2 separate regions of the Homo sapiens genome follow, and region 1 is linked to region 2. The links are contacts of gene promoters, found by promoter capture Hi-C in blood cells and fetal thymus (Javierre and others, 2016). All regions are on one chromosome and are shown on one strand. Each heading gives the region's core, a stretch centred on a gene start or on the middle of the fragment in contact. The rest is flanking DNA. Distances are from core to core; before and after follow the strand shown.

The links. Contacts are between HindIII fragments. The CHiCAGO score rates a contact against its expected background, and 5 or more counts as called.
Region 1: a fragment that was not itself captured here is called in contact with the fragment with the promoter of CFAP65 in region 2 in 2 of 17 cell types (total CD8 T cells and erythroblasts); the score reaches 5.2 in total CD8 T cells.

The regions. Positions count from the first base shown.
Region 1 is chr2:219,140,841-219,145,991 of GRCh38, reverse strand. All of the region lies in intron 5 of NHEJ1 (non-homologous end joining factor 1), which reads left to right. Among named protein-coding and RNA genes, the nearest start is that of NHEJ1, 17 kb to the left of the region's middle. The HindIII fragment of the contact is 4,364 bases long and covers 1-4,092 here.
Region 2 is chr2:219,039,616-219,044,765 of GRCh38, reverse strand. It overlaps CFAP65 (cilia and flagella associated protein 65), which reads left to right and starts at 3,250. Exons shown (of 35, transcript NM_194302.4): 1 at 3,250-3,278; 2 at 4,202-4,247. The HindIII fragment of the contact is 30,940 bases long and covers 1,139-5,150 here.

The DNA of each region.
Region 1 (5,151 bases), core at 661-3,160, 100 kb before region 2:
TACAGTTAGTACCTTAGTATTATTGCCCCATTTTCTTTTTTTTTTTTTTATTTTTTTTTGAGATGGAGTTTCACTCTTGTTGTCCAGGCTGGAGTGCAATGGTGCGATCTCGGCTCACAGCAACCTCCGCCTCCCGGGTTCAAGCGATTATCCTGCCTCAACCTCCTGAGTAGCTGGGATTACAGGCATGTGCCACCACACCCAGCTAATTTTGTATTTTTAGTAGAGATGGGATTTCTCCATGTTGGTCAGGCTGGTCTGGAACTCCCGACCTCAGGTGACCACCCACCTCGGCCTCCCAAAGTGCTGGGATTACAAGTGTGAGCCACTGCGCCCGGCCTATTGCCCCATTTTCTAATTATATATGTTACCCAAGTTGGTACTTTATCATGTAAGTAAATAATGCTATTATAATCTGGTATTATGTATAGATTATTTGTATTTCTTTATTGTCTTCTAGATTAATTTGTAAGCTCTTTGTGGACAGGGTCTGTGTCCCGTACCTCTTTTGAACCCTAAATTAGCACTTTTTAAAGGGCTAGGCATAAAGCAGGTATTCTTTATTTGGAACCTCCTGTTCTGCCTCTGTGCATTGACTGAGCTACAATGCTTGGGGTCTAAACACTAAAAGCAAAAAATGTGAGGTAGGTGCTCAGTCCAGGTACTGAAGCAATTGTAAGTCTGAAGAAGAAGGAAAACTTGTATTGCTAAGTCCTGAAAGAGAAAAGGTTTCAAGTCTTTTTGTTGTTGTTGTTGTTGTTGTTGTTGTTTTTGAAACGAAGCCTCACTTGCTCTGTCACCCAGACTGGAGTGCCATGGCACAATCTTGGCTCACTGCAACATCCCTTTCCCAGGTTCAAGCAATTCTCCTGCCTCAGCCTTCCAAGTAGCTGGGATTACAGGTGCGCACCACCACACCCAGCTAATTTTTGTATTTTTAGTAGAAACGGGGTTTCGCCATGTTGATCAGGCTGGTCTTGAACTCCTGGCCTCAAGTGATCCACCCTCCTTGACCTCCCAAAGTACTGGGATTATAGATGTGAGCCACCATGCCTAGCCTAGAAAAGGTTTCAAGTTTTTATGGGTAAAGAGAGACCGTTAAACCTAAACTTGTGACTAAGAGAGATTTCTTAGGCCGTTTTTCTCTTAGATAGCTTCCCCTGTCTATAAGTTTAGGTATCAAGGCTGGGGATAACATGCTGGTTCCCTGCCTCATCCCCTTAGTTAAACAATGCAAGGCTTGTTCTTAGCTCAGTAGAGAGGTCTCTTCCTGATCTAGTGCCTGCATACCTCTCCAGCTTGACTTCTTGACATTTTTCTCTGTGTACTTTATGCCTTAGCTATATGGAATGACTTTTAATTTGCCCCAATGCTGTTTCATCTTGTCTTTAGATACACATTCTTCCCATGATCTAGAATGTCCAATGTTCTGGCCTTATCTAACTTGCAAACTTCTATTAATCTTCTAGATGTCAGCTTCACCTTGTTTGGGAGACCGTTCTGTACTCTGCTTGTAAAGACTATTCTTCTTCCCTGCTACTATAGTACCTTGGATTATACCTCTGTTTTACCACTTATAACATTGTAATATTACTGTTTGTATGCCTGCAAGACTATGGCTTTCTCCTCCACTGATCTGTGGACTCTTTGAGGCAAGGACCATGCTGAATGCATTTCTATATCCCCAGCACTGTGCGTGGTGCCTACAGGTAGTAAGTCTTCAATAAGTTTGGATTAATATTTTGATAAGTCTATGCTAGGGGGATTTTATACAGATTATGACACTGTGGCCTGTGGATACAGTGTTGCTTTTTTTTGGCTGGAGTGCAGTGGGGTGATCTCGGCTCACTGTAATCTCTGCCTCCCGGGTTCAAGAGATTCTTGTGCCTCAGCCTCCTGAGTAGCTGGGATTACAGGTATGCACCACCACACCTGGCTAATTTTTGTAGTTTTAGTAGAGACAGGGTTTTACCATGTTGGCCAGGCTGGTTTTGAATGCCTGGCCTCATGTGGTCCGCCCACCTTGGCCTTTCAAAGTGCTGAGATTACAGGCGTGAGCCACTGCACCTGGCTCAGTGTTGCTTATTAGACCTATATTTGGGGTCTTCAGTTATTCTCATGGCTCATTTTGCAGCTTTGGATAAATCACTTCTCATTTATAAAATTAGAGGCTCATCGTTTTCATACTATGGGGTTGGGAGGAGCCCTGCGGAATTGAATGAGAAAGCATACAGAATTTAGGTGGCAGCACAGGAAGAGTATCAGTGTTTTGGAACCAGCTACTTCAAGAATACTGGTCCTGTAGGTTCTGGGTGGATCAACCTCATAGACTTGTAGAATTTTATTATATCTGGAAAGGAAGTGAGAGATAGGTAGTTGTAGTTACAGCTTTCTATTTTATAGATGAAGAAGTTGAGCCTCAGAGAGGTTAAGTGACTTGCCTAAGGTCATATAGCTGTAGCTTTATGTTTAGGACTTCTCACATTTCTTGACACATAGTCTAGGATTATCCCTGTTTTGTTTTGCTAGTTTAACTGGTTGTACACACCTGTTAGGGGAGACATAAGGGCTGGGGTAATATGGAATTCTTGTGACCTCTGGGGTCATTGCACTGTCCTCAGAATGTCCTGTATAGCTGCTGGAACTGAAAGGTTTCCTACTGGGGCTGTAGAACTTCTTATGACTACTGCATCTTTTTAGTTACTCTGCTTGCCCGGGGTCCTACAAACAGGACACAGAAGGGTCATGGGGTCACCCAAGACTGAACTGAAAGGATGTGCCATCAAAATAAGCAAGATGGAATAGGAAGATAAACAAACCAGGGAGAGAGCTCAAGATGAAGGCGCAGGGGGGCCAGGGCTGGTGTCAGAGGGCCATGCGGTCATTGCCTGGGGTCAGTTTTTAAAATTCTCATTGGGATTATTACTAGGCAAGAGGCTATAGACAATAAGGCACAGGGGACAGTAGGCCAGGCAGGTGGCTAGGATACTAAGGCTCGGGAAAATAAGAATTGAACAGGGGTTACTTCTCCCTATTTGGTCCTTTTGTTTTTCCACTCTGTCTAAGAGCCTCTGATTTCTCAATTCTGGGGAACCCAAGGAGCCAGTTGATAGTGGCCTAACTAGAGGGTGATACTGACAATATTGACTCAAGTCAAGCCTGGGTGGGATGCCTGTTGGCATGATCTTCATGGAGGCCAAGAACCCTATATAGGGCATTTTGTAGGACTGGGGGTTGAGAGGCATCTTTAGGAGTGAAAGAAGAGTCAGGGACTTAGGGACTGTTGTTACACGGCAGTAGGAACTATATGAAAAAGGAAGTTTAGGATGACTGGGCAGAGCCCACTCTCAGTCTAGTCCACTGGAGGGAGTTCCTTCCCCTGGCCCTGTCCATGCCTCGCTCTCTCCATCTGGTTGCCATCAGGCTGTGTGGCTGCTGGCGGGCTCTTTATTTATTTATCCCAGTGTAATGGGGTGAGGAGGGAGCTGGCCTAAGGCTGGCATTCCAAGGCCATGCCACTGAGCCACAGGCAGTTTGCATGGGTGTGTGAGTCACTGGGGCTGCATGCTGCTCAAACCAGACGCGGCCAGGCTCAGGGACAGCAGGCAGCCCAAAATAGAGCCCCGCCCTCTACAGCTGGCAACCCCTGGCTAGGAATCAGCCCTTGACACCAAAACCTGGGCAGTTGCTTGAAGTTGGCTTCCTTTGGTAGGGGTCCCTTAGCAGAGATGGAGATTTTGCAATTCTCTACTCTTCTCTCCTCTTCTCTTCTCTTCTCTTCCCTGCAGTCGTTCTTACTGCTGCATTCTGAATGCCTTATAAGTCTTAATCTGTTCAGTATAATACCTTAGCTAAGAAATTAGGGGGCTATAGTTAACATTGATTTGACTTAGCATCCTAAGTGCAGCCATGGTTGTTATATTCTGCCTAGTTTTAGTTACTGTCTTCAGCTCCTGTCTGGTTGCAGCCTGATTCTAGAGCAGATACTTTAAACTATGAAGAGAGTCACTGCTGCTCTTACGAAGCTAGAGCTTATATCGCCTGGGGAAGATGGGCAATGCTTTAACTTGAAAATTGCCATCTTGTTAAGCTTGTTCACACTTCTAATTGGTTTCTTTGGCTGGCTCTCCGTCTTCTGCCTGCCTCTTAAAGGTTAGTGTTTCCCAGGATCAGGTCCCTGATCCTCTGAGACTTCACTTTCCTTCCTCTGGGTCATCTCATCTAGACCCCAGTGTCAACTATTGTTGGTACATCGCTGAATACCAATTTTATATCTCCACTGTGTTTTAGGCCCATATTTCTTTCTGCATGTTTGGCATTTCCACCTGGATGTCCCACATAAAGCACATCCTAAACATGTCCAAAATGAATTATCTACTCCCCCAGACTATTTCTCTTATATTCCTTATCTTGGGGAATTATACCATCATCCATTCAGTTTTCTAAGCTAGAAATTTGGGAGTCACTCACTTTCCTCTTTGTCCTTACTTTCAAAGCCTAATTTATTGACCGTCTTTTGAATCTGCCTATCTTCTCTATTCTACCTCCCGTTGTCTGAAATTAGCCATTTTTCTCTCCCTTTTCCCCCACTCCCCCCCTGCTTTTTTTTTTTGAGACCAAGTCTCACTCTGTTGCCCAGGCTAGAGTGCAGTGGCACAATCTCGGCTCACTGTAACCTCTGCCTCCTGGGTTCAAGAGATTCTCATGCCCCAGCCTCCTGAGTAGCTGGGACTACAGGCTTGAGCCACCACGCCCAGCTAATTTTTGTATTTTTTGTAGAGATGGAGTTTCACCATGTTGGCCAGGCTGGTCTTGAACTCCTGACCTCAGGTGATCCACCTGCCTTGGCCTCCCAAAGTTTTGGGATTACAGGTGTGAGCCACTGTTCCTGGCCTTTCTGTCCCTTTTTTGGCTTGACCATGCAACAGCCTCCTAACTTGTCTCCTGGTCAGTTCTTATTCCCCTGCAGTTGAATTTGTAGTTTTGTCAGAGTGATGTCTTTGAAACTGAAACTTGATTATGACACTTTTTGCTCAGAGTCCTTTAGTGGCTCCCGGTTTCCTACAGGATAAAGTTCAAACTCCTTGCACGCCACACGTGATCATTTATGATTTGATCCTTTTGACATCTTCAGCCTGCTCCTCTGGCATT
Region 2 (5,150 bases), core at 2,001-4,500:
CACTGCTGAGGACAGGAGCTTCTGTGGGAGGGCCTACCTTCTCTTTTTCTGTTTTTCTTTAAAGGTATACCTTTACATTTTATTTTATTTTATTTATTTTTTATTATACTTTAAGTACTAGGGTACATGCGCACAACGTGCAGGTTTGTTACATAGGTATACATGTGCCATGTTGGTTTGCTGCACCCATCAACTCATCATTTACATTAGGTATTTCTCCTAATGCTATCCCTCCTCCAGCCCCCACCCCCTGACCGGCCCCAGTGTGTGATGTTCCCCCCACTGTGTCCATGTGTTCTCATTGTTCAACTCCCACCTATGAGTGAGAACATGCAGTGTTTGGTTTTCTGTCCTTGTGATAGTTTGCTTATAATGATGGTTTCCAGCTTCATCCATGTCCCTGCAAAGGACATGAACTCATCTTTTTTTGTGGGGAGAGCCCACCTTTTCACCTCTATCCCTCAAGTACAAACTTGAACGCAAACTGATTCCAGAACCAACACTCAAAATGGAGTCAGAATCTCAGGATGGAGAAAGGCAAGAGAGGGCTTTCTAAGTGCTGGATCTGGGTGGACTTGTAACTGGATAGCCAGGCACCCTGGTGTCTCCTTTTGTCTTTTTCCACCCAGAGCAGCAAGGTAGGCTCCTTCTTGGAGAAACAAAGGAGGAGGACATGGAGATGGCAAAAACTTCCCACTTCTCCAGCATGCAGCCAAGAGGCTGGATGCTTGTAGGAGGCGCAAGTGCGCAGAAGGCTGAGTGGCTTACTTACAGAGACCTCCCATTTAGTGAATATTCTGTGTGTGTGTGTGTGTGTGTGTGTGTGTGTGTGTGTGTGTGTGTGTATGTGTGTGTGTGTGTGAGAGAGAGAGAGAGGTTTTGTTGATTGCCTACCATGTGTCAAGTACTTTACACATACCTTATCACCCAATTTTCCCACCTGCCTTTTGAGAATTATCCCCAGGTAACAGATGAGGAAACTGAAGCTCAGAGAGGTCATGTGACTTGCCCAAGGTCACACAGGCAGTTGGTAATAGAGTTGGGATTAATCTCAGGTCTGCCTGATTTCCCAGCCCTGGGTCTTCTCTATATGATGGGGGGCATAGAGGTGTGGGAAGATATCTGGGAAAAAGAAGCTTAGAAAAGGTATTTGTATGTGTGTCGAAGTTCAAATCATGGAGTGTGCTTTTACCTTTATTATTCCTCACACCAGCTTCCAGGCCAGGAGGATCTGAGGCCGTCTCCCTTCCATCCTTCCTCCCTTCTCCTACATCCTGATAATCAATTTTCTGTATTGTCACCCAGCCTTGAACCAAACAGCAAACCCTCCCCAGTGATTTTTTTTTTTTTTAAGATAGAGTTTCGCTCTGTCACCCAGGCTGGAGTGCAGTGGTGCGATCTCAGCTTACTGCGACCTCTGCCTCCCAGGTTAGAGCAATTATCTTGCCTCAGCCTCTCGAGTAACTGGGATTACAGGCATGAGCCACCATGCCCGACTAATGTTTATGTTTTTAGTAGAGGCACGGTTTCACCCTGTTGGTCAGGCTGGTCTTGAACTCCTGACCAAACTCCTGATCCACTAGCCTCCACCTCCCAAAGAGTGGGCATTACAGGTGTGAGCCACCGCACTTGGCTGCCTCTCCCATGATCTATTTTTGGGTCCAGGGAAAATATGATCAACAGGTCCCAGGACCCATTATTCCACTGGTTCTAGGCTCCTGGAAAGGGAGAGTTTCAAAGCAAACTCAGCTTCCTCTTTTCCCTCCTCAGGCTCAATCCCTTGTGAAGGCTCTTTCCATGTGTGTGCCTCCCTGGGCAAAGTCCAGCACACAGGCTTCTCCCTGGGAGTCCACTGATGTCAGCTGTGGTCACTAGGCATCAGGGCTTCTAGGAGGCAGCTAGACGCTTACAGAAGCAGAGGCTACAGGGGCCCTGCTAAGAGGAGGAACCATTCCCTTTAATTTTTCCAAACCCAGAATCCACCATTGAGCAGGCAAGAGCTCAGGAAGGAGACTCCCCGGTGAAGAGGCACGAGGACGCCTTTAGCATGAGCTGTGCTTCCTCCTTGGAGTTTTCCCACTGAGATTCCTGGGGCCAACACCAAACCCTGCCCCCAAAGTCCCTATTTCATTTTCGCCTAAGAATGAACCAGTTCCTTTCCTTGTCCTTAAGGTCCAGCTGAGTTAGGCTGACCATTTCAAAAAGAATTTGGGGAAAAACAAAAAGGAAATAATTATAGAAACTACAAACAGCATAAAAGTCGTCATGTCCAAAGTGCAGGTTTCAGATTCTGAGAATCCCATTAAATCCAGGGAAAAGCTCACTGAGTTCCACATTCTTTGATTCCCGGAAAACTCTTGATCCTGCTGGCGTAATTTACCAGGCGCCCTGCCTGCCCCTTCCCTCCAGCCCTGCCAGTCTCTGGCCATGTGATCTCCCAGGCCAGCTCAGGCCACTTTGCCATCTCAGTCCATCTTTCACCTTTCACAAGTCAACTCCAACTCTCCCAAAATGATAGCTTATTTTCTGTGTTTACCCCTAGACTCACTAAGCTCTCTCCCCCTAGTCACATCCCCCCTTCCATCTGAAAGGAAATAGGTTCACTGTCTTGAGGAGCAAAACATCCTTAGTTACCCAAGAGTGAACTTTGAGACTTTCAGCTTCACCTACTAAGGAGTCTTCACAAAATAGGACCCTTCCTCCAACACACATACCAACAAATGAACCAATGGGCTTCCGAAAGTCTACATTATGTATAATAATTCCTTTATACATTAACCTTCCGATCCCTTCAAAAGAGTTATTTTTCTTGTTGCTGACCAAGAAGAAATGCCGGGAGAAAACGCAGAGGACGCATTCCCTCTCATCAGCAAAAGGGTTCTATTTGCAAAGCAATATTCAAATAAGAAATAACTGCGGGCTGCTTTTAAGTTAACAATTGCAATCACAGAGAATGAGCTTCTGTCTCTATGCATGTCAGAGTGCCAAGCCCACAGAGTAGCTTCCTGTGAATTTGGTCGTCAATTAAAGTCATGATTGCTGGAACGTCACGACAACTAGGAGGCTCTACATTACCATGTCGCGACAGGTAGAAGCCCACAGTTACTACCAGCAGGAAAAGTCAGGGAATCAAAACTGAATATAGGAAATAAAATTGGGCGGTGCCTTCGCCTTCTACGAATCTTGACTTACTCGGGCTGCCGTCGTTGCCCTGGGATATCTGAAGACGCCGTTTCCTGCGCGTCCTGTATCTATGGAGACGGCAATATGGAGGCGATGTAAGTTCTGAGCGTTAGTCCCAAGGTCCCAGGGTCTCAGGGAGCGGCGCGAGTGGCCAGGGAAGGTATCTGTCCCGGGAGACCCTATCCTTCGGGAAATCGTGGCCAGAGGTCCCCTCCATGCCCTTCAGAGAGCCCCATGGGACTGAGTCTTGGGCGAGATCAATCAGACTAAGGATCCCGAAGAGAAAGAAGAAACAGCTCTAAGTGTATTTTGTCCCCCTTTGTTTCATCTATTTCTTTCTCCCTCGACTCTATACGACGACCTGCCACTTTTTCTAGTGGTCATCTTGGAGATTTTTAGATCAGCAATTAGGCAAATAAAGGAAGCTCATGATATATATTTTTTAAAGTCCTCGAAATTGGAAACTTCAATTTAAAACAAAACAAATCCAAAACAAAACAAAAAACCTCGCTTGCCCAGTCTCTTCACAACGACTGCAGATGTGTGAGTCTTTTGGAAGAATAGTGCAGGCTAGTGGGAAAGTTATGGTTGTTAATTACTATAACGTGTTTGTTTAGTGCTTTTTCAAATCCTCTGTTTCATTCGAGCTGCACATCGACTTTGTGAAATCGTCAGGATAACCCACATTTTACAGGCGAGGAGGCTGAGGCTCCGGGAGATGGAGAAATTTGCCTATCCCCGTAGAGTCTGAGAAGATGCTGGCACCCAGCGTCCCTTGCCCTGGGACCACTTCCCTAGCCCTATGACCTGTGTTGGACCAGCTTTCTACCCCATCATCTCTCATCTCTTCCATGCACTCTCTGGAATAGTTTCATGTGTTGAGTGGAGACTTTTTCAGAGCTCTGAGGCAGGAGCTGTCTGTACAGTCCCCTGAGGTCAGAGGCATTAATGAGTCAGGACAGGGCTGCAAGACCATCCCGTGGCAGAAAAGTAATGGACTCTCTCTGTGTCTCCTCAGCTTACATTTCTTTGATTTCATCTGAACGTCCAGTTCACAATTGGAGGTAGGAGCCTTGCCTGCCTTGTCTGGTGCCTAGCACAGTACCTGGTACATAATAGTAAGTGCTTTGTGAATGAACGAACGACTGAATCTAGATAGTCCCCTCCAGAGGGTTTAGACATGTTGCCAACTAGGAAAACCAGGGTCAACAGAATCTTCCGCTTTGGAAGGGTGTTGGTGGGTGGTGGGGGAGGGATAAGAGAGTGTCTGATGGAACTGTATAAATTCCTAAAGGGTGATCATGAAATTGTTTGCTAAATCTGAACACATTAAAATAAGGAACTAAACGACAAACTTGAAAAAGGATCATTTTAGGCCAAATAAATGGGCAAGTCACACGTAATCATAAACTGTTGTAAGAATTAAAATACCTGTAAGGGAGAATTGCTTGAACCTGGGAGGTGGAGGTTGCAGTGAGCCAAGATCTTGCCACTGCACTCCAGCCTGGGCAACAGAATGAGAGTCTGTCTTAAATAAATAAATAAATAAATAAATAAATAAATAAATAAAATCCCTCTAAGGACTTTACAACACTGCCTGGCACGTGGATTCTCAGTACATGTTAATAGACATTATTATTTTTGAGATTGTTATTTGAAGAAGTGAGGGAGGATACTGAGTAGTCTGAAAAATAAACATATGTTCAAAAAAGGTATTAAAGTGATGCTGTCCAATGTGGTAGCCAATAGCCATATGTAGCTATTCAGCACTGAAAATATGGGTAGTCCAAATTGAGATGTGCTGTAAATGTAAAATGCACACCAGATTTCAAAGTCTTAATACAAAATAAGAAAGTAAAGTACCTCAATAATTTCATATCGATTACATATTCAATGTAGTATTTTTGATATGATGGGTTAAATAAAATATATCATTATAATTAATTTTACCTGTGTCTTTTTACTTT